4 separate regions of the Homo sapiens genome follow, and regions 1, 2 and 3 are each linked to region 4. Evidence: promoter capture Hi-C in 16 types of primary human blood cells and fetal thymus (Javierre and others, 2016). All regions are on one chromosome and are shown on one strand. Each heading gives the region's core, a stretch centred on a gene start or on the middle of the fragment in contact. The rest is flanking DNA. Distances are from core to core; before and after follow the strand shown.

Evidence for each region. The method cuts DNA at HindIII sites, captures the fragments that hold promoters and counts their contacts. A CHiCAGO score of 5 or more calls a contact.
Region 1: a contact is called between a fragment that was not itself captured here and the fragment with the promoter of GYS2 in region 4, in 3 of 17 cell types (total CD4 T cells, non-activated CD4 T cells and naive CD4 T cells). The highest score is 10.0, in total CD4 T cells.
Region 2: a fragment that was not itself captured here is called in contact with the fragment with the promoter of GYS2 in region 4 in 1 of 17 cell types (total CD4 T cells); the score reaches 5.1 in total CD4 T cells.
Region 3: a fragment that was not itself captured here is called in contact with the fragment with the promoter of GYS2 in region 4 in 2 of 17 cell types (non-activated CD4 T cells and naive CD4 T cells); the score reaches 7.9 in non-activated CD4 T cells.

The regions. Positions count from the first base shown.
Region 1 is chr12:22,456,272-22,461,844 of GRCh38, reverse strand. C2CD5 (C2 calcium dependent domain containing 5) reads left to right here. Exons shown (of 27, transcript NM_001286176.2): 23 at 2,303-2,353; 24 at 3,260-3,361; 25 at 4,684-4,874. Among named protein-coding and RNA genes, the nearest start is that of C2CD5, 85 kb to the left of the region's middle. The HindIII fragment of the contact is 418 bases long and covers 3,102-3,519 here.
Region 2 is chr12:22,503,788-22,509,512 of GRCh38, reverse strand. C2CD5 (C2 calcium dependent domain containing 5) reads left to right here. Exons shown (of 27, transcript NM_001286176.2): 10 at 2,694-2,802. Among named protein-coding and RNA genes, the nearest start is that of C2CD5, 38 kb to the left of the region's middle. RefSeq lists a silencer at 3,284-3,578. The HindIII fragment of the contact is 611 bases long and covers 2,015-2,625 here.
Region 3 is chr12:22,473,570-22,479,176 of GRCh38, reverse strand. C2CD5 (C2 calcium dependent domain containing 5) reads left to right here. Exons shown (of 27, transcript NM_001286176.2): 15 at 700-864; 16 at 4,286-4,426. Among named protein-coding and RNA genes, the nearest start is that of C2CD5, 68 kb to the left of the region's middle. The HindIII fragment of the contact is 714 bases long and covers 2,324-3,037 here.
Region 4 is chr12:21,601,710-21,607,370 of GRCh38, reverse strand. GYS2 (glycogen synthase 2) reads left to right here and starts at 2,524. Exons shown (of 16, transcript NM_021957.4): 1 at 2,524-2,899. The coding sequence starts at 2,779. The HindIII fragment of the contact is 12,472 bases long and covers 1,754-5,661 here.

The DNA.
Region 1 (5,573 bases), core at 2,061-4,560, 850 kb before region 4:
ATCAAAAATCTCCCTTAAAAACTTGGGTTTTTCAGATTTTTTTCAGATGCATTCGTATTTGAGGGCAGGGAATAAACATTTTCCCTCCCTTTTTTCCCTCTTCATCCTTTATATAAATTTTACTGGGTAAAAGTAATACATGTATATCGTGAAAAATTTGAATATTACAAAAATCATGTAGTCCAGAATAAAGCTCTCTTCTCCATTTCCTTCCCCAAGAGGCAACTACTTTTAGCAGTTTACTGTCTGTCTTTCAAAGATACTCTATTCATCCTTTTTAAAAAACACAAGTATTTTACATATCATTGTGTACCTTGTTTTTTCCACTTGATGTTAGAGATGGGAACAGATATTTAATACATACTCAGGTAAGCTCTTTCTGTGTACATTTGCCATTAAAATATATGCAGTTCCTACTAGGGAATTCCATATTACTCAGATAATATCAAGGTATAGAAAAGATTTTCGTTTTAGTGATTTTTCAGAAATTTTTAAGCCGTTCCTCTTTCCCCTGCAGTTTAAAAAAATGCACAGAATTCCTAATGCCAGCTATATGTTCTGTAATTCTACACCAACCAAATCTATACTGCACAAGACATATGAGAGCCTCAGGACTCTCTTGGGATATGTAAGTTAGGGGTAGGACAGTTGGTGTCCCAGTCTCTCCATTGAGTCTGTTTCTGTGCTGAGTGTCCCTACAGATGTGGTAAGCCTCTGAATGTCAGGTCTGTGCTGGTCTTTCTTTAGGTCCCATCTCCTCCTAGACTTCCAAAGTCTCTCAAGATCCTGAATCAGGAGGACTTTTCCTATCTAGATCTCCAGTCAGTGAGCATGATGGTCAGGGCATGTCCACAGTGTGGTATCCTCATAGGCCATTCGTGGACCCCACCTGGTGATCCCTTTTATTCATCAGCTCTGTATATGTTACAGGATTAGCTAGTGGTCAGTTGCTTTATGAAAACTGTGGGCCAGGTTTGGTGGCTCATACCTGCAATCCCACCACTTTGGGAGACCAAGGCAGGCGGATTACCTGAGGTCAGGAGTTCAAGACCAGCCTGGCCAATATGGTGAAACCCATCTCTACAAAAAATACAAAAAAATTAGTCGGGCGTGGTGGTGGGTGCCTGTAATCCCAGCTACTTGGGAGGCTGAGGCAGGAGAATCACTTGAAGCTGGCAGGTGGAGGTTGCAGTGAGCTGATACCGTGCCACTACACTCCAGCCTGGGCAACAAGACGAAAACTCCGTCTCAAAAAAAAAAATTGTGTTGGTGGGGTGTGGTGAGATACTTGCATTGTATTTTCAATTAGCAGCAACATTCTATGGTAGAAACATTCTGTACAAATAATGTTTTGAAAAGTTTTTTTATTAATTTAAGAATGTTACCAAAAAATCAACACACTAAGTAGAAATGAAAAAACATATTTATCTATCTATACTTAAACTATACTATACTAAGCCAACCGAATTATTCTCAGTGCTTTTCATGAGTTATTTCTAAATTGGCAGGACTATTCTTTTAGTTGTAAAATTCTTTCAAACAAAAATTTAAATATTCTAATGTGGGTAGAACATGAGCATTAAAAATAGGTTATGAAGTTTTTTTATAGTGCTATTTAAATTTGTACAATACCTTAAATACCTGTAATAAAAAATATCAGGGAAAATTCTGGATGCTACTGTCAGGTTACTGGAAAGGGAGTGATACTGGCTTGGGATTCCTGGTTACCTCTGTGATCACTCATTTTTTAGTTTCACAAAGTCTTGATACCACCAGAGGGAGCTGTTGATATCGAAGTCTTCGAATGAAGAAGTTGGTGGTGAGAGTTAAGACTAGGGAGCAGCTTATGCTGATCTGTGAAGCATAATCATTATCTTGTCTGTAATTTGTAATCTTATAGACTCTTCCCCACAGCAAACATTTTCCTTCCATGTTTCATTTCAGATATTCTTCCCAACACATTGACCCTTTTCTCTGCCTAGTCTCACATCCTGCTTTCATCATACTCACATTCGTTACTATGTTTATATTTTCTTGTGACTATAAAGTTTCTGAAACTCTTTTTGTGTTACAGTAAGCAAGTAGTCTCCTTTGGCATGGTATTTATGAACTGAGCTAGTTTTCATTTATCAATAGAAACTGCATTTTAAACCTAGATGCTTTTATTTGGTTTGCTTTTGCAATGAAGCCATAAAGATTTCCTCCTATTCTTCTGGCTTATAGAGGTATTAACAAATAACAAAGAAGAGGTACTGGCTTGTACTTAGCATCTGAGCTAATGTTGTTCATATTGTCTTATTAGAACACCTGGAGAGTGCAAGTTCTAACTCAGGTATACCAGCTGCACAGAGAGGTGAGTTTGTCTAATTAAGCAAATAGTCACCAAAGGTGTAAAATTCTAGTTTGGTGGTGCATAAAATTATAGACATTGAAGAAAATGCACTGGACAATATGGAATAGACACCAAAATCTGGCTTTTTTTTTTTTGTAGGTAGAATATGTTCTTTTAAAAGCATCAATTAAACTAATATTTAAATTTTTTAGTATGTTAATGGTTTCCCAGTTTCTAAGCATAAAATTTTAGCTCCTTAAAATTTTTTTTCCAGCTTAGCAGTAGTAAAAGTTATTGTTTTTAAAAGGGGGAACTTGTGAGGCTCACACCTGCCCTGACCCCATATTATCAGAGGCTTTGTTGCCCAAAATCAGACATGGAAACAAAACATTAACAAAAATGGCCCTTTGGTTTTCCTCTTACTGATTGTAGAAAGAAGATACTTTAATAACAGATAAGTCAACTACTAACTTTTAAAAATATATTCTTCAACATTTGATTCTCTTTTTTTAAAATTTTAGGGTAAAACTAGGGAAATGAATTATTCACAAAGCTTTGATTATAAAATAAAATAGAAACAACTGAAATATTGTAAATTAAGAAGAATAGGAAATAAAGTTAGTTAAAGCACAGTATGTGGTCCTTTCATTGATATTTATGTTAGACCCCACTCAGGCTCTCCCTAGGAGACCACACAACTATGACATCACCAGAAATGCTCAGCCTGCTAACTGAGAACTTGGTTTTGGACAAATCAGTGTCTAAAGCTTGACTCTTTACTATCTCTCTTATCTGACTTGAAAAGGACCATTCTTTTTCTGAGTTACAGTTAAATTACATCATCGAAAGGAGTGTTAAGACGAGTAAGAGACATCATCCATATTTTTTTCTTTGTTTTTTTCTTTTGTTTTCTGTCTGTGTTTTCAGCAACGTCAGTTGATTACAGTTCCTTTGCAGACAGATGCAGCAGCTGGATAGAGCTCATTAAACTGAAAGCTCAGACCATAAGGCGTGGATCAATTAAGACAAGTAGGCGGATGTTTCTACCACATTATGATAATCTGAGAAACATATCCCTGATTTCCCAGTGGTGAAAGCTAGACCTTACTACCCAGTAATAACATTGCCAATCCATCATGTATTAGAGTGTGAAAGCTGCAGACTGTAACGGTCATTTAGGAAAAGCTTTTGAAAGGCCTTTAGATTTATTAGTTTTACCTATAGAATTGTGTTTTTAAAATTTTCCTTTTTGTGCAGGTATTCTTAAAAGTATATAAATAGATATTATATCATTCTAATTGGAAGTAAATTGCCAACTCTCTTATTGAAAAGACATTCTTCCAGGACCCAAGGTACTATTTAGTATGTGGCATCTGTCGGTTTATTAAGTGTGATATGCAGAGGGCTAAACTAATAAAGAATTTATGGTGAGAAAGTAGTTATTACCTTACTGCTAGAATCAGAATCATTACTTATATGTTATCTTATGCCATGTGTTTTGGTAAATTTTGAGGTAAATATATTTGAGTGAAAGAGCTTACCGTACATTAAAAGGGGGAAAAAACTACATTTCACAGGAAATAATATAGGATGTGAAACCAGCCAGATCTGGTTCTGAATCCTAGAAGTGCCATTTTAATAGCTATGAGACCTTGGGCAAGTTACTTAACTTCTCTAACCTTCCATTTCCTCATGCATGAAATGGGGATGATGATGATAACCTGTGTTTTTGGGTGGTTGTAAGGATTAGATATATATATATATGTCTGGCTTATGGCAGTTATTTAATAAGTGGTAGCTATTATTTTTTTACTTTATAAACAACCAACTTTTAGCTAGCAGAGGTCGTTAAGCTTTTAAAATTATGAGTTGGTTTTCAAAAAGGTTTGGAAAAAACCAGTATCTTACAACTAGATAACATAAGGTTTATCTACAAGTTGACAATGATGAAGTCGTCTGAAAAAGATGGAAAAATTGCACTGGGAAATAGAACAACTTTCACACTCTCCTTGTAATAATTTGTTCCTACAGCAGATAATTTTAATGCTCAGCCGCTTTTTCTTTTTCTTCACTTTATAACCAATCATTGTGTGTGTAGCTATACTGCATCAACATTTTCTTTTGCAGGAATGCCATTTTTCTTCCAAAAGAATTCCATTCCAGCATTTCCTCTCATGTTTTTCTGTCTCTCTTTTTTAATTGCATGCAGTGCATGATAATTTCTTTTCTTTCATGACATGGCTTAGCCTCACAGACAGCTGAATGTTGTCACCACTTATTTGGAAACCTCAGGGAATAATTGTGTTACCAGCGTCTGTTCTGAATGTTTTCTCATTTTTCTCCAATTTTAGCCATGACAGTTGAAAAAGCAAGTCCAGTGGGTGATGGAAATTTCCGGAATCGTTCTGCTCCACCTTGTGCAAATTCCACAGTTGGGGTTGTTAAGATGACACCTCTTTCTTTTATTCCTGGAGCAAAAATAACTAAGTATCTTGGGATAATTAACATGTTTTTTATTCGAGAGACTACTTCTCTTCGGGAGGTAATTTTATAGAAGTTATTTCATTTTTTAAAAAATTTTCTCTGAAGATTTAGTAACAAAACTAAGTTTCAAATTGTTATTTTTTGCCAAAAACTTACAAATATTTATTTATATTTTAATTATCTGGATTGAGTCTAGAGTTTATTTCATTTAGCAGCGAGGATTATCACAAGAATTGTGTTAGTTTTAAACCTATTTATTGTTAGAAATCTTAGAACCTTATCATATAGTAAATAAAACAAATATCTGTGTTCAAATAGAAGTTTAAAATAGCCCTGAAAGAACAGCTTCGTTTCCTCAGTAATTTAGCAATTTTTGACAGATCACATTTAGAAATAGTAGAGGACTGTATTACAGATACATGTCTAAGGAGATACTTTATGTAATTTAGCTCTGCTGTTTCTTCCTCCTGAGAAAGGAATGAAGCTGCTCATTTTTTACTCTCTCAGTTAGTGTATGAGGATGACATTTCTTCAGTCTTACCTCACACTGAGTATCATTAAACTTTAATTTGGTTTTTAAATAACAAGTTGTAATATTTTACTTGATGTGGGAAAAGTTCAGAATCAGAGTCAGCCTGTTATATCTTTTATAACACAGGAATTTAAACTTAAAAAAATTACGTTGTGTCATATGTTAAGGAACAGGGGCTACCAAGCAAATTAATATGGTGAATAGGGAAATTTTTTAGTTACTGAG
Region 2 (5,725 bases), core at 1,071-3,570, 900 kb before region 4:
CGATTAGGTGAACTGGGGACATGTGAGGTGGAGAGTGGGTCGTGGCCTCAATGGGCAGCCATCGCCCTGTGTGTTTCTTTCTGACCAGCTCTAGTACAATGCTTGCCCTCGTTTCTTTATCCCAAACAAAGAACTTTGGGGAGAAGGGTAAAGAACCCTGAATTGAGAAGTCATTTAGGTTCATTTATTCATACTTATGTAAAATCTTATATGAAAATATTTTCTAATACATAATTTACCTATTTCTTTAGAAGGAAAAAGGAAGTACTATCTTCCATTTAGCTTACAAAAATGTTATTTTCAGTATCTCTTGTCTAGATATTTAAAAGATTTAAGGCTGGGCGCGGTGGCTCACGCCTGTAATCCCAGCACTTTGGGAGGCCGAGGCGGGTGGATCATGAGGTCAGGAGATCGAGACCATCCTGGCTAACAAGGTGAAACCCCGTCTCTACTAAAAAAATACAAAAAATTAGCCGGGCGCGGTGGCGGGCGCCTGTAGTCCCAGCTACTCGGGAGGCTGAGGCAGGAGAATGGCGTGAACCCGGGAAGCGGAGCTTGCAGTGAGCCGAGATTGCGCCACTGCAGTCCGCAGTCTGGCCTGGGCGACAGAGCGAGACTCCGTCTCAAAAAAAAAAAAAAAAGATTTAAGTATAAAGATTACATATAAAGTGATTTTTTATTCTGTGAGACCACCACATGCCTCAGATATTTTGAGGAAATATTAAAATTTAAGTGATCCTAACACTGAAAAAAAAATCTGAAAGACCTAACTACATTATTAATAATATAAGCTTACCTATACGTTTCTCATTTAAAACTCACATTTACAAAGTTCAAATGTACTTGCTCAGTGATTACCGAACTGTTTTCCCAACTTCTTTCTTAATACTTATATTGTGTAATTACCCCGTGTGTGCTGTGCCTAACAATAAATCCATTCGAATATTTTTATGACTCAAAACTTCATTTACATTCAAATTTCCTAATAATAAATATGAATTCATTATGAGGTAATCCTCTAGTTTGTACAATTTTTATTAGATTTCCAGGAACAAAACTTAGAGGACAGAAAAAGAAGTTTAAATGGAAATAAGGATGCATTTTGACTAAACATATTATAATACATTTATTATAAGTGACGTACTCTCCTTCCATCCTCTTCCTTATTTTCCCTCTACCTTTCTGCTGGGCTATACCTAACCACTTCCATAGACCAGTTTTTTACTCTTTTCTTACATAGCATAGATTTTTCTTTCTCTTGTTTAAAGATTACTTCTAAATTTGAACTGAATTTATTTCTAAATAAATTTTAGAAACTTTTTTATACTCAACCTTCATGGGTTACTGAGGTGCACAGGACTGATAGCTTTTGTGCAAAATGATTCCAAGTTGCCGTGCTTTGTGATCATGCTTTTGTGAGTTTGTATTCTCCATGCTTGAAGCAGCCAGTGAATAATTCTTGCTGCTTTTAATAAGCCTGCTTCTGGTGGTATTCTGTATCTCTTTACCAGCTTTTATTTGTTGCATTTAATCTGAGGTGGTCTTGAAAATGAGATCATGATAAATTTTAGAGTTGTTTCTTTTTAAGATAAAAATTTATAACTACTATAATATAGTATGAATATGATCTGTGGGAGTCTCCTATGAATAAAGTATATGAGCTTTAGAGCTTGAGACCGTAACAGTTCTTTTGACCGTTGAGAGCCCTGTTTTGCTTATTTTTCTCAATTATGCTCAATTATGTTCTAAATAGCTGAGGCTACTGGTAAGTGATTCCAGTTAAGTGAGCTACATTAATCTTGCAGCCAGACAGGTCAAACATCAAGTTTTCCTTACTTGCATCCAATTTGTGTAATGTGAGGGGCCTCCATGTTTTCACAGGAGCTCCGTTTTCTTATTGGGTCCTATTTCAATGAATTTCCTTTCTTGGCTTTTTCATTTGTCTTTTTTGTGTTTCTCTTTGTCTCTAAGTTGATGAATTTTATTCTTTAAGAGAGAAGGATAGAATAAAGCTTGCAAGAACTTGTGGAATTTTATTGCCTTCCTAGCTGTTATCTATGTACCTTTCAACTTTCCTTAATGTACCTTTATGCACTTGTATTTGTTCCTGCCACATTGGTGTTGATAGAGTAACCTCACACAATGATTCTCTACCCATCTCAACTTGATATTTGCCACTATCCTCTTTCTCTTAACCCACACTGCTTATCCTCTCACTTATCCTCCTTTGGTCCCACTTTCATTTAGATCCCTTGGCCCCAGGTTTTTAGAGTCTTTACCAGTGTCTTATACTGGGTGTTCATGTGAAGGGGGTGTCTAAACCACTGATAGATAAAGGGGAAGAGGGATAGGGCAGTTCCCTCATCTCATTGAGAAGTTCCATCAGAGTTGGAGATTCAGAGGAAGGAAGAGTGTGTTTCAAATATCTTAAATTGAAGGAACACTTTTTTTTTCTTCATTGAGAACTGATGAAATGGGTCTTTGGATTCTGTATAACATTGTATATATGGGGAAATGGATTTGAAACTCTAAACATTTAATTAAACTTTTAATTACAAAGCATGTGTGATGTGTAATGGGTGGCCTTTTATTTCAAGGGATGTAATACAGTTGCTATGGCAAGCTTTTTAATAAGCAAATTTTTTACACTCTACACACGATAAGTTGTATTTTTCCCTTATTCTTTCCACTAGGAATTTCCATTTTTTACCTTGACGGCATTTCCTCCTGGATTCCTTGTACACGTTGGGGGTGTAGTTAGTGCACGTTCTGTGAAGCTTTTGGATCGTATCCACAATCCTGGTATGTTCTTAAAAAGTTTCAATGTTTCCTTTATTTAAATTGTGGTTATTAAAATTGATTTTTATGATTTTTTTAAAGCCAAATCTAACTGAAAAGAGAAATGAAAAGAAAGTATAAACTAGCACGTTACTTTAATATATTTGTAGTCATCTTAATTATAAATAAACTAAGTGTATTTTAGTTACTTTTCTGTAAAAAACCAATTGATTTATTTTTGGTCACAATATCACTTTAAGGAAATCCTTAAATAACTTTTCTTTGACCCAGGGGAGATAAACATTTTTATAAATTGACCATTATGGCCATTAGTTTAAGATGTTAGTTCTTTTCATTAGCAGTAGCTTTTTATAGATTACTTATTTTCCTTGTTCTTAAAACAGGTATTTTTAAAAATGTAATTGTAAAGCTGGGCACAGTAGCATGTGCCTGTTGTCCCAGCTACTCAGGAGGCCGGGGCAAGGAGGATCGCTTGAGCCCAGGGCAACATAGCCAGACTTGGGCAACAACCTGGGCAACACAACAAGACCTATGTAAACACTGTGGGTGTCATAGGAACAGATAGGTAGCAGAGGGAACCAAACCAGTCCATGGGTCAAAGACCCTCTTGCTGAGCAGGCTACTGGAGCTGTCATTTCTTAGAGCTCATTGTGTAACTTGAACACACTGGGACTGTCTTTGACCACGGCCACCTGTCCCCTCCAGTCTACCCAGGCAGCACTCAGGAGACACAGAACCCAGATCCCAGCACTGTGCTGGGATTCCACTCTGTCATTGGTGGAATCCAGCATGGGCAACAAAGTAATTGTAGGCGTTGTCTAGAGTAGCTAAGAATTGAAAAACAGATGAGCAAACTAACATCTGGTCCTTCAGTTTCTTTTATGTAGCTATTTGTTATGTTTAAGCAAACGAGTAAGAATAGTAGCTTACTTCTTTAAAACATAGGACCATAATTATAAAAGCGAGTAGGCATCAAAGTCCCACTGGATTCAGGCCCTTTGATCAGAAATCCTCTGGTGATTTTTCTACGTCTAAAATAAGCATGATGAATAGTGGGAACTTTCCATATGGAATGTGTTCTTGCATCTCTCATTGACTAGATGCTCAATCAACATACATTAAACCTGAAGTTATATTAGTATTCTTATTTGGTGTATAGACGTATATATTTTTGAAAATTTTAAATTGTCACATCCAGTGACCTCTTTGTGAGGCTTGTATTGACAGCTATAAAAAGAAGGGTGGCCGGACACAGTGGCTCATGCCTGTAAAATACTAAAAATACAAAAATCAGCTGAGCGTGGTGGCAGGCACCTGTAATCCCAGCTACTTGGGAAGCTGAGGCAGAGAATTGCTTGAACCCGGGAGGTGGAGGTTGCAGTGAGCCGAGATTGTGCCACTACACTCCAGCCTGGGCGACAAGAGCGAAACTCTGTCTCAAAAAAAAAAAAAAAAAAAAGAAAGAAAGAAGGGTAAAAATGCTTTGAAGTTATTGGACCAAAATATTGTAGATAATGACTATTTTTGAGGATACAGAGCATTACTATTTTTTAAAATTTTTTTAAAGTTTAATTTATGCCCTGTAGTTTGATGTCATTTGAGTTTATTTCAGAGAAGAAGACTAGAATTCTCTGGACCCTGAATGAGATTTCAGAAAAACAGTGCGAGTCAGGATTATTTAACTCTAAAACTGGGCAAATGCATCTTCTAAGCACTGGTTTTCTCTTTTTTTCCCCTTCTTTAGTTTTTTTTCCCCCCGTTTCTTATTTTTGTGGTCAATATAAGATGTTTTCTCCATTGTAGTATTTGTGTACAGTACTTAAGAAAAATTCAGACTGATGCCAGTTTAATGTATTGGGATCTTGAAGACTATGCCAAATTCTATATCTTTGTGTTAAGGAACTTGAATTATTTGGAAAATGCAAGGAAATACTGAGTTAAAATACCTGACATCACCCTTGTGACCCAAGGCTAGTTACCTGTGTTTCTATGGACCATTGACTCAAATATTTTAATAGATGGCACCCACTGATCTGATAGTTCGAAACATGGTTTCAGGAGTATATTTAATTACTAGATGTCTTCTGCTTACTGAAAAACATTTTGGGCTGGGCACGGAGGCTCACGCCTGTAATCCCAACACTTTGGGAAGCCAGTTTGAGGCGGGTGGATCATCTGAGGTCAGGAGTTTTGAGACCAGCCTGACCAACAAGGTGAAACCCTGTCTCTACTAAAAATACAAAAATTAGCTGGGCCTGGTGGCAGGCGCCTGTAGTCCCAGCTACTCGGGAGGCTGAGACAGGAGAATTGCTTGAAACCGGGAGGCGGAGGTTGTAGTGAGCTGAGATCGTGCCACTGCACTCCAGCCTGGGCAACAGAATGAGACTCCTTCTCAAAAAAAAAAAAAAAGAAAAAAAAACATTTTGATTTTATTTTGTTGCTTCCATGTACTCTGAGTAAGCTATAGAGTCTGGGAGAACAGGTGAAGTTTACTTAAATAAGTTTAAGTAGAGAGTTGTATTTAAAATGTCACTACTTAAAAAAAAAAACGAACTGCATTTTGGGGTTTATTTTATGTGCCAGTTCATGCTAATTGTGCAAGAAATGTAAGAATCCAGGCCCAGGGAAGAAAAGAATGATTCCTATTACAGAATGTGTTTTGTGTATTGTAACTACCAGCTCACCCATTCTCTGCCTTTCCTCCCAGTTTAGAGTATTTTCTCAGCTCACATTTAGAAATTCTCAGTTATTAATGGATTATTTCCCAAAAGGTCATGGACATATACATATAAGTGCTTTCAATGGCGTATGAGTTATATTTTCATTTTGTTTTATTTTTAGTTAAATATGTGTAATTATTCTAATGGTTCTAATATTATTTTGATTTAAAGTATCACATTCTGACTGGGCACGGTTGCTTACACCT
Region 3 (5,607 bases), core at 1,431-3,930, 870 kb before region 4:
GCTTGAACCCAGGAGTTGGAGGTTGCAGTGAGCCGAGATCACGCCACTACACTCCAGCCTGGGTGAAAGCGTGGGACTTCGTCTCAAAAAAAAAAAAATTGTGAGGTAGAAACATAAAAAATATAATTGGGTATGCAGTGAAAAGTAAATCCGCATTTCGTAACTGTCTCCCACCTACCCAGGGTCCTCCCCAAAAGAAACCAACGCTTATTACCAGTTGTTTTTGTGTGCCTTTCCAGAGATGTCCTATGTATACCCTGATGCTGATTATATTCTTCCTAATGAGCAAAGATCACATTCTTGTTTTTTTTTCCCTTTTTTTCTTTTTTTTGAGACAGAGTCTTGCTCTGTTGCCCAGGCTGGAGTGCAGAGGCATGATCCTGACTCACTGCAACCTCTGCCTCCCGGGTTCAAGTGATTGTCCTGCCTCACCCTCCTGAGTAGCAGGGATTATGGGCACACACCACTACACCTGGCTAATTTTTGTATTTTTAGGAGAGACGGGGTTTCACCTTGTTGGCCAGGCTGGTCTCAAACTCCTGACCTCAAGTGATCTGCCCGCCTTGGCCTCCCAAAGTACTGGGATTACAGGTGTGAGCCACTGCACCCAGCTGTTGACCACATTCTTAAATATGAAAACTTAAGGACTGTTATTCTGTAGATATTTTTTCTGATTATTTCCCCATTATTTTTTACAAGTCTGCCACAGGTGTGTATTTAGCAGCTTTACCAACTCCTGGTGGTATTCAGATTGCTGGGAAGACTCCTAATGATGGCTCATATGAACAACACATCTCTCATATGCAGAAGAAGATAAATGACACAATTGCTAAAAACAAAGAGTTATATGAAATCAATCCTCCAGTAAGTAAAACAAACCTACATTGTGAATGTATCAGTTATTGTTTATTAGTATATTTTTAGGTTATCTTATTGAGGACACAAGATTTTTTTTTCACTGTTTAGCTCTCCTTATTACTCATTCTTTCACCTCCCTTTATGTCTTTGCTCAACTGTCTCCTTTTCGGGTAAGCCTACTCTAACGATCCTATTTAAAAATTGTGACTTCATTTTTGCCACTTCCTATGACTTTTCCCTCTTTTATTGTTTTCTATAGCTCTTATCTTTGTGAGTGTGTGTGTGTGTGAGTGTGTGTGTGTGTGTGAGTGTGTGTGTTTTGTTGGTCTTTTGCCTGTTAGTACTGGTAGAATGAAGCTTCATGAGGGCTTTGTTTCTATTGCCTAGAAAAGTTCCTATTGGTGGTAGTCTCTTAGTATTTGTTGAATGATGAAATAAATGGTTTAAAATGTTCTTTGTTAGTAAAAAGAGATTCTTATTGGTGGTAAAAATGTGAAAGAATATAGTTTTTCAGTTACAGTTTCTTTTTTTACAAATTTGCTCCCAGTCATTTCCTTTAATCAGTCTTTTTACCAACTTTGCAATAAGTATCACAATGCTGCCTCCTCTGTGGATGACTGATGGCAAGAGTCTGAATTGAAAGAAAAATGGGTTGGAATTAGAATGAAACTATTTGTTTTTATGAGTCTCTGATAATGAAAGACTTTCACAAAAGGAAAGTATAACATTCACACGTATACATATGTAACAAACCTGCACATTGTGCACATGTACCCTAAAACTTAAAGTATAATTAAAAAAATAAAAAAAGAAAGTATAACATTATTGCTTTTATTATTTTAAACGTCTTATCTAATTTTGGCTGGTCTTCTGGAACAGTGTGTCTGGATTGTTGCGTCACATGTATAGCTTTCATCATATTATTCTAGCATAGTTGTTAATTTGGGAGGAATTTTAAGGTTATGACCTACAGCTGCACTATTCATTATTCACTGTGGTAGCCGCTGGCCACATGTGACTTTTGAGGACTTGTGACTAGTCTGAATTGAAATGTGTAGTAAGTATAAAATATACACTGGATTTTAAAGATTTACTGTGAAAAAGTAGTGTAAAATATGAATATTTTTGTATTGATTTTGTGTCAAAAATTTAATATTTTGGATATACTGAATGAAATAAAATGTTTTATTAAAATGGATTTTATCTGTTTCTTTTTACTTTATTATGTATGTGGCTTGCTTTATATTTCTATTGAACAATACTGACTTAGGGCTTCTTTAAAATGAATGCAAATGTTGATGTGTTAACATATTCATATTTGAAAAATAGACTTTGTAAAAGTTCTCTGTGCACCACTCTACTGACTGCTTATTTTTATAGTACATTATTTTTATTTGGTAGTTATATTTTGATATTTGAACATCTGTTTATAGTATGCCACTTGGGAAAAATGATTTGTAAAGCTTTGTGTTAGGGTTTCATATATTCTTCATTTATTATTTCTAATGATATGAGCTGAACTTTTTTACTTACTTAATAGTGTTTCTCACCTCTGTAAATCCATCCTGACCTCTAACAGGAAGAATGGACTCTTCCTCCATTGTGTACTTGTTGTACCTGTATGTACTTGTATAGAAACTGTTACATATTATTGTACTTAGTTTTTATATATCTGTCTTCCTTTACTATAATGTAAGCCCTTTGGAGACAGGGATGTGTTTAAATAAGACTATGAATTAAGTTACTTCATCCATTCAGTACTTATTGAGCTGCTACTATGTGTCATACAGTTTACATTTGGAAGGAGGGAGTAAATCTATTATGATTTTAAAAATTTTAACATATATGAATTTCATGTGTTGAGGATGACTGTATTTTCACAACAGTACTCATCAGTTTATGCATCTTCTAATATGTCTTTCCTTATTGTAGATACTGACTACATTATAGTCTTTTAGCATAATCTCTCAGCATTTTTTTTGACAGAGTCAGTGTACAAGGTTGATTACCAGGCCACTATACACATTACAGTGTTGTGTTATGTCCACCCTGAATATGTAGATCAGAGTGTTCCTTCTCTTAGGATGATAGCCCTCACTGAAATAAATGCTGCTGTTTAAATTTTTTGTCAATACATTAAAAAATGTTTCTAATACAAAGGTGTAGTACCACTTAAGCTTTATGGAGATAATCAAAGGTATCAAAATAAGATGCACATCTCTCAGAATAACAGTACTAGTGATGAAATTTCAGTATGAATCTAGAACATATTAAATACCAGACAGTTATATTTGTTAAGTCTGTGGCATTGTGAACAAAGGCATAACAGAATTTAAAACTATTGTAAAATTATAAAAAGTAGTGTGGTATCTAGTGGGAATAACGTTGCACTGTGTGTCAAAAGACTGACCTAGACTGGCTCTACACTTGCTAGTTTTCCAAATTTAGGCAGACTACTAATTTACTTCTGAATTACAGCTCTTTTCCATTTTGTAGTTATTATAATGTTAACTTTATAGAGGGCAGATTAATTTGGAGTACAAATAAGATAAATTGATGTGAAAGTGCTCCATAGATCATTACATTATGAAATTGTGCAGTGGTAGTCTTTTATCTAAGGTGCATACTACCAATGAACATTTAAAACTATATATTTTTGAAAAATTTTATGTACAATTTCCTTGTTTATTAAAAAGACAATTCTGTTGCATCAGCAATAGGCTATGGCTTTTGCTTTTGCGTTCACGTATTCATATTCTTCCAGCATTCCTTGTGGCCGACAGACACTTAGAACCCCTAGTGATCTTTGGCTATGTAACAGCAAAAAGCTCACTAAGCCATACAGTATTGCACCATACACTGACCTTAAAAAGATCATTATTGTAAGTACCAATGTTTATTTAGCTTAATAAATTGAATAGCAAATATGTGCATAGTATAAGTATATATGTATTCATACTCATACATTGATCATATTTCACATTTTGCTATATGGAGCTTTGAAAGTGGATAAGAAAATATATAAAAGATTAGAATTCTTTCTAGGAACATAAGTCTTTAAATTTTTAAGGCCTATTAGGACTTTTATAATGCTGAATAGAAAATATGCACACACAGCAGTACTGGATTTCAGAGCTGTAAGGACTGCCAATTCCATACACATTGTAGTGTCCTGTGTGTACACTAGATGTCAGTTTTATCTTGTTATGTCTGTGACAGTTATATATATTTTTCTGATTCGTGTATCATTAAGGCTGCCATATCTGCTATAAAAGTTTAGTTTTAAAGGTTATACTTAAGTACGGACTTCACTGAGTATATTTTACAGGCTTTTTCTCCACAGGTAGGTGTCTACTAATATAAAGATGTAAAATTTAAACTGGAAAAGACAATCTCATATGATATAAAACAATTATATTTCTTTTAGGAGATATCTGAAGAGATTATAGGATCACCCATCCCAGAACCTAGGCAACGCTCAAGACTTCTAAGATCTCAATCAGAAAGCTCGGATGAAGTTACAGAATTAGACCTTTCACATGGGAAAAAAGATGCTTTTGTTTTGGAGGTAATGTGGCATTGGACTAATTTCTTAAAGGTTTTGGAAGCTAAGATACACATTTTTTCACGTGCTAAATTAATATGATACTTTTATATCATTACAACTGTTATAAATATTTAAAAAGTTATTATATAAAAATACAACAAACTTGAAAATAACAGAACTTGGTAACATATGTTTGTTCAATACCAGGTCACTGATACAATAATGCAGATGGTTCTGAAAAAGTTAATGTATGGGTTGAAATAATGATAGAATAGTATTAAACCTTTGAAGTTATTTTTGTAAACTTGAATGAATTTAAATGAAGTGCCATTCTTTAACTTACTATAATTATTACCTTTTTTGTATATTACTGTAGTTATAACATTTTTTAGTATAATCACTGTGAATTCTGAGTGTAGTATTTTCTTACTGAATTCAAAAGGTATAATTGATCCATCTTTATAAAAAGATACTAAGAACACTTTAGTAACTTTCCCAGAGAGTAAATGTCACATGAAAAGTTTATGGAGACTCCTTCCTCACAGATCTGCTTCCTCTGCACTCCCCTGTAGAATGGTTAGCTCCCAAAGAGATAGATTTTTCTTTTTCATATTGAAGGAAAGGAAAATAAATGATTAAGATGTAAGTTGAGAGAGAGAAAAATCAGATGCTTTGATCTTGGTGTAGCAGGAAGCTGGTGGTAGAATTGTGTTGGGATGGGATTGGAGGTTTAAAGAGTCAGGAACGGTGCCAGTGGCTGTAACAAGGATCTATGAGAGACGCACAGGCCTAACCAAGGTGAGAGTGTCAGTTTGTAGAAAACTCAACTTATATGGTTATTTGCCCCCCACTTTTTCCCCACATTTCTCTACAGTCTGAGAATGGAAAATATGTCATGGAAAATATCTCAGGTCAAGGAGGTTAAAAGTTCCAGGGTACTATTTACAGCAATGCTACTCAAAGTGTGATGTGCCTACTTGTGGCGTCAGCTCTACCTGGGAGCTTGTAAGAAATGCAAATTCTTGGGCCCCTACCTCAGACCTAGTAGATGAGAATTTCAAGGTGGAGCCCAGGAATCTGTTTAACAAACTTTCCAGGTGATGCCAAACATTACCTGAAGTTTGATCTAGGGCATTATTGATAAGTCTGATCTTGGGATCCTGGCTAAGTAGAGAGGCACATGAGAACAAAGTGCTTCAAAC
Region 4 (5,661 bases), core at 1,275-3,774:
AATAAGTCTACTATGAGGGATCATTAGGAGATGACGTGTGGCTGAGAGTGCTGGTACTTGACACAAAAACGCCAAATGGGAACTAAAGACTAGAAATTTCGAAAAATCAGAATAATGAGTGTGAGTGTGTGAAACAATCATGTGTATTTAATTCATTTATATGATTAAACTTTTGAAAACTGTGTTACTCATCCTATATACGGTATATATATATATATATATATATATATATATATATATGTATACGTTTATTGCAGAAAATGTGTAGAACACAAATAAAAATACCACACAAATATCAATCATAATTACAACCAGTTTAAGACAACTATTGTAAGAGTTTTTACATGTAGCCTCCCGTCTTTTGTTTATGTCTATTCCAGCCTTCTATTACATATACTTCATGAACAGAGGTATAGAGTACATTTTCACAAAATTAAATCAATCATACTACTTATTTTATTTTACATCCTACTTATTTTCATTTAGGATGTTATAAAATATACTCATTGATCTTAAGGTCATTTTTCTGAAAAAAATGTTTTCTCTAGGCATTTGATCAGGTAATATATACAGGTGGTACAACTTCAAAAAAATGAAAGAAAAGTAAAGCCTTCTTTTTACCCCTTTCCTTTTCAATGGTAACCTCTGCCATTAGGGAAAGCTTTTACTAAACCATCATATGTGTTATAAAAAAGGCTAAGATTACTAAAGTGGTTGGCATAGTACCAGGCACAATGTTAAGTGACTTATATAGATTATCTCATCCCCATTTTATCAAGAAAACAAAAACTTAGGTAAGAAATTGGCTCAAGTTTACACAGCAGATAAGTGATGCCACAAGTGCCTAACTCACAACTAAGCAGTTGATACCTGGAACAGATTGCAAATAAATAATTCAGCCTTATCATGTAAGCTGGAGAATATGGATCATTGTGCTCCTGTAGCCTGTGTGACACTGGATGAACCAATCTCAAGGCTCCTGGAACAGAAAACTGCAAACGTGAAACTCTATCACTGTCATCCCATTCTCACTCCTGTCAACATGTCCTTAGATTTGGTTTTACTGGAATGTGCACTTGCAGGACTCTCAGAGGTTATGTGAACATAAGCAAACCATTTTATAAAGGAGACAATCATTTTGATCATTTGGGATCATATGTTTTCTATTTTAGTACTTGATTTTTTTTATTAGCCATATAATCTTTTTCTCACAACGCAAACAAATGGATAACAAACTATGTACTTAAATGTACTTTTCTGGACAAAGATAAGAATCAACTGTGTCACAAAATCATAGATGACATTTATTTATTTTTGTTTTAATTAATTTTTTATTTTATTTTATTTTTTAAGAGAGTGGTTGTTCAGGTTGGCCTTAAACTCCTGGGCTCAAGTGATTCATCCCCCTCAGCCTCCTGAGTAGCTGGAACAACAGGTGTGTACTACCACATCAAGCTGACATATTTAATCTATTTGGCTTACATAGATTTATTAATGTAATATAATGAAATGTGGTTCTGCCCATCTTGAGTCATTAAAATAAGTGTAAGTCTATAAGACCAAGTATATAGAAAATAATTTAAAACCTAATAAAAGGTGCTAAAATAGTATTATCAAGTAACAAATTACAATTCTGATTGTAATTCTAACTTAAAGGATATTTTGTATGAGCTTCAGTTCTGCTGCTTTAGAGAATAATAATGTAAAAATATTGATTTTAGCTACATCTGTAAAGATGGCTCAAAATTAAGCTTGCTTGTGAATGCACCAACTCTCTGTAGGTACAATATAGGATATATGTGTATGGGTGTGTAAATAAATTGGAACATATATATTTACAAACATAGAAACACAAGGGAAAAGCAAACATATGCCATTTATCTGCAGTCTGATCCTGATGATTTTTCTTCCCATGTTTGAACATTTACATTGACTGAATTATTCTTTATCAATTTGATAATATTTGAAGGAAATGTACAAACATGACAAAGATTTATTTTTACTACCTCATTAAAATTATTGACTGATGATTATTGACCAGTCAAAATTATGTTTTTTTTCATGTTACACCCAAAGACATACTCAAATTTATGCTTTTTTATAGGGAAAGTTTTAAGAAAAGTAATTGAGAAAAGGGGGCTCAAGATCTCTGGCTATCACCAAAATTCAATTTGTAAGTGTAGAATAAAATAACTAGGAATATTTTTTAAAAGCTCTAGAAATAGGAATCAAAAGAAAGAAGAATATTTAGGAAATCCAAAGGGATTTAAAGCATAAAAATATGTCCCAATCAGTCTACATGTAATCTAAGGAGGCCTGCAAACTTAATGAGGGGAGTTGCCAATATTGTATCACTTTGGAAATGATGAAATAAGCATTGGTAACTGTATGAATCTAGGAGTCTGGTCAAAAGGACAAGGGCTAAAAGGCTGAACTTGGGTCATGCCCTGCCTATCCCAGGAAGTGCTTACCTATGTCCTGAATCAGAGGGTTTTTCTGTTGACAGCTCTGGATTGTTTGGGTAGATACTGACAGGGCAGATACCGTCCTCACAATACCTGCCCAGAAAGACGAGAAAGAGGAGGAAGAATTCCTCCTTCCACCAGGAATTCTGTGGGAAGCACATAAGATTTCATGCTACTAGTTTATTCCCAAGAGAAGCTACCAAAGCCTGGTAACTCTACCAACTCTAACTTTTGTGCCTGTAAGTTCTCTTCTCCTGGGATTACAACTAATTGAAACAGGAATTCAAAGGAGTCTCGGAGGACTGTAAGAAGAATGCTTCGAGGCCGATCCCTCTCTGTAACATCCCTGGGTGGGCTTCCCCAGTGGGAAGTCGAAGAACTTCCTGTGGAGGAGTTACTGCTCTTTGAAGTTGCTTGGGAAGTGACCAATAAAGGTTTGTACTGCTCCTGAAGGTGGATCAGTACACCTTCACTAGGTGACTGAGGAATGTAGAGTAAGATTTCACAGATAACTCTCTAGTGATAACCAATTGCTAGTGAGTGAGGAAAGCATTTAAACGGAATATATATTTAGGCTACATTTAACCTTGTCTATTACAACAGGCTATGAATACAGACTTGTGTATGTGTTGAAGAGGGAGAAAGTTGAAAATATTAGCCATTGCCATGGAATGTGCATTTAAATTAAAATTTAAAATCCATATTATGACAACATAGAAATAAAAAGTTAATATTTACATTTTTTGTTTTAAAATTTTTCTCAGCAAAATAGTATAATTAAACATTTTATTTTAGGAAGATGTATATGTGATTAGAACCAGTTGGAAACCTCAACTCTACATTCTGTTAGTAATTATATGAAATGCTTAAGAATGTTTCATATTCACAATTAGCTTGGAATTAATGTTTTAATTCAGGAGCTTCTCAAAAGGCAAAATACTGTGCTCCTTTCAGAATGAAAGTAATTTTTTTCTTCAATGCTATGCTTATGTAGGAATTATAAAATAAAGAAAATCAAATTGATAAAACAATTTGCGAGTGAGGTATAACCTCATCTGTGCTGGGTAAGAGAAGGCAAGGTAGAGAACCACAATGTAAATGATTTTGAAAATAAAGACATCTGTAAAATTATAAAACAATTCCTTGTGGGTTTATACTCTCTAGTTTAAAAGTGTCAAGACTATTGAAGGAACATTAGCAAAGAAAAAGTCATGGTTTTGAAGGCTGAGTTCCTCAAGATCTTGAAGAATCAAGCCAACTGATTGCTGGGTAAATGGCAGTGATGACTTGTGTGATTTAAACGATCTGAAATTATGTCATGTGTTGTGATATATAACACATTTATTTTTCATTTTGTGTTTACTATTTCATGTCTATTACAGTAATCTAAAGGATCTGAAATAATAACCAGAATGTGATATATTACTTCCTTCTTTTGGCTAATCAGAGCCAGCATAATCTCAAAATTAAATGCATTATATATGGCATGCATTCTGAAAAATCAGAATTCACCTTATACTAACTGTTCAAAGTTCTCGTGTGTATGCATTCATAAAATCAAAATTAAAAGTCAATTTTGCCTATGTAGAAGTGGACAGAATGCATATAAGAGAACAAAGCACGGTCTTATTCTCTGTAGTTTAGTGAGAAAGAATCTAGGAGGACAGAAACCTTATTACAGAGAAGTGAAGTATTTTATGTGTACCTGTTTCTGTTGTTTCTTTTTAAATTATTTTGTATTCTTTTCCTCAGAGATCTTTATCCTGAAATGAGCATGTGTTTTTAATGTCCTTTTTCTAGTCACAAATTTTTCCAGTCCAGTTTTTAAATATGCCCAAAGTTCCTGGGAACAGAACCATCTCTATCACATGTGAATCCCGGAGTATGCCTTGAAATAAAAGTTTTCTCTAGAGAGTGGGCAGGAGCTCAAGGACATAGCTTATTGGTGGATAAAACTGGAAGGGACTTGTTAGCACTGGGAATCAGTCCAGAAGATCTCTGCACAAGTTCCTGCACCTGAGCAGAGCCCCTTCTGCTTTCCTCTTTTCTCATCATTTAACAAACATTAATGGAGCACTGTTACCTGGGCACTGGGAACACGCCAGTGAAACTAAGTTATTTTATGGATCTTATAATCAGTAGCATGTGTGTTGATCTCAGGGTCTAGAACAGTGCCTGGTACATAGAAAATGCTCAATGGATTTTTTTTTGAAAAAATTTGTTTTTCAACCCCTAAGCTGCCTTTAATACTTATTTTCTATCATTTCCCTTTCAAGGGGAAGGGAAGTGTTTTTGTGGAGAGGTCCCCACAATGTGATTTACACAAGTTGATATCATCTTCAATGTATCTTTATTTTAATATTATCATAGCCTGGTATGGTTTGAGATTTTCATATAGATGGATAATTATTGTGTTTATTCCTAATAATACATTGCCACTATAGTTTCTTTAAATTTAATGATTTGAATTTTTACTTCCCTGCATTTCATAGTAGTGATATGAGGTATCTTAGAGATCATGAATCCCACTCCTCCAGTTCATAGAGCAAATTGATTCGTAGAGGTATTTAATGATCAAGCAAATGGCAGAGTTAGGACCAGGATTTAGGTCTTTTCCAAGGCCAATTCACTTTTTTACTATTATGTAAGAATTAAATATTAAAACCTCAGTTTTCAAAGGAAATGTCCTATAGATGAAAGAACACAGTACTTGCAGTCAAAGGTCTTGGATTTCTGAAACTTTCTGAAAAAGAACCCCTTAAACTGAATAACAGTTTCTTCATGAATAAAATGAATGTTATACTCTCCAGTTATCTTACCATGTTTTCTGGCAAACAAGGAAATGTATTCACATCCAAGAAAACAAAAGGTTTCTTAGGAGAAGAATCCCTTGCTGCCAGAATTTTGCCCATGAACAATGGAAACGTGAAAAACATAACAGATGAGAGAGTCACAGTTAGTTTTGGGTACTAATTCTCAGACTTCAAAATAACCTTTTTAATTTATTAATATTAACCTTGAAATTTATTGCTTTTATTCATTAATCCATTTTATTATTCAGTAAGGATTCATCAAGTGTCTATTAGGTATCAGGCACTGAGAGGCGAGGGAGATAGAGTTAAGAATACAGAACTGATTCTTAATCTTCAAGAATTGACAAATTTGTAGAAGGTAGACATTGAACATACAATACAGT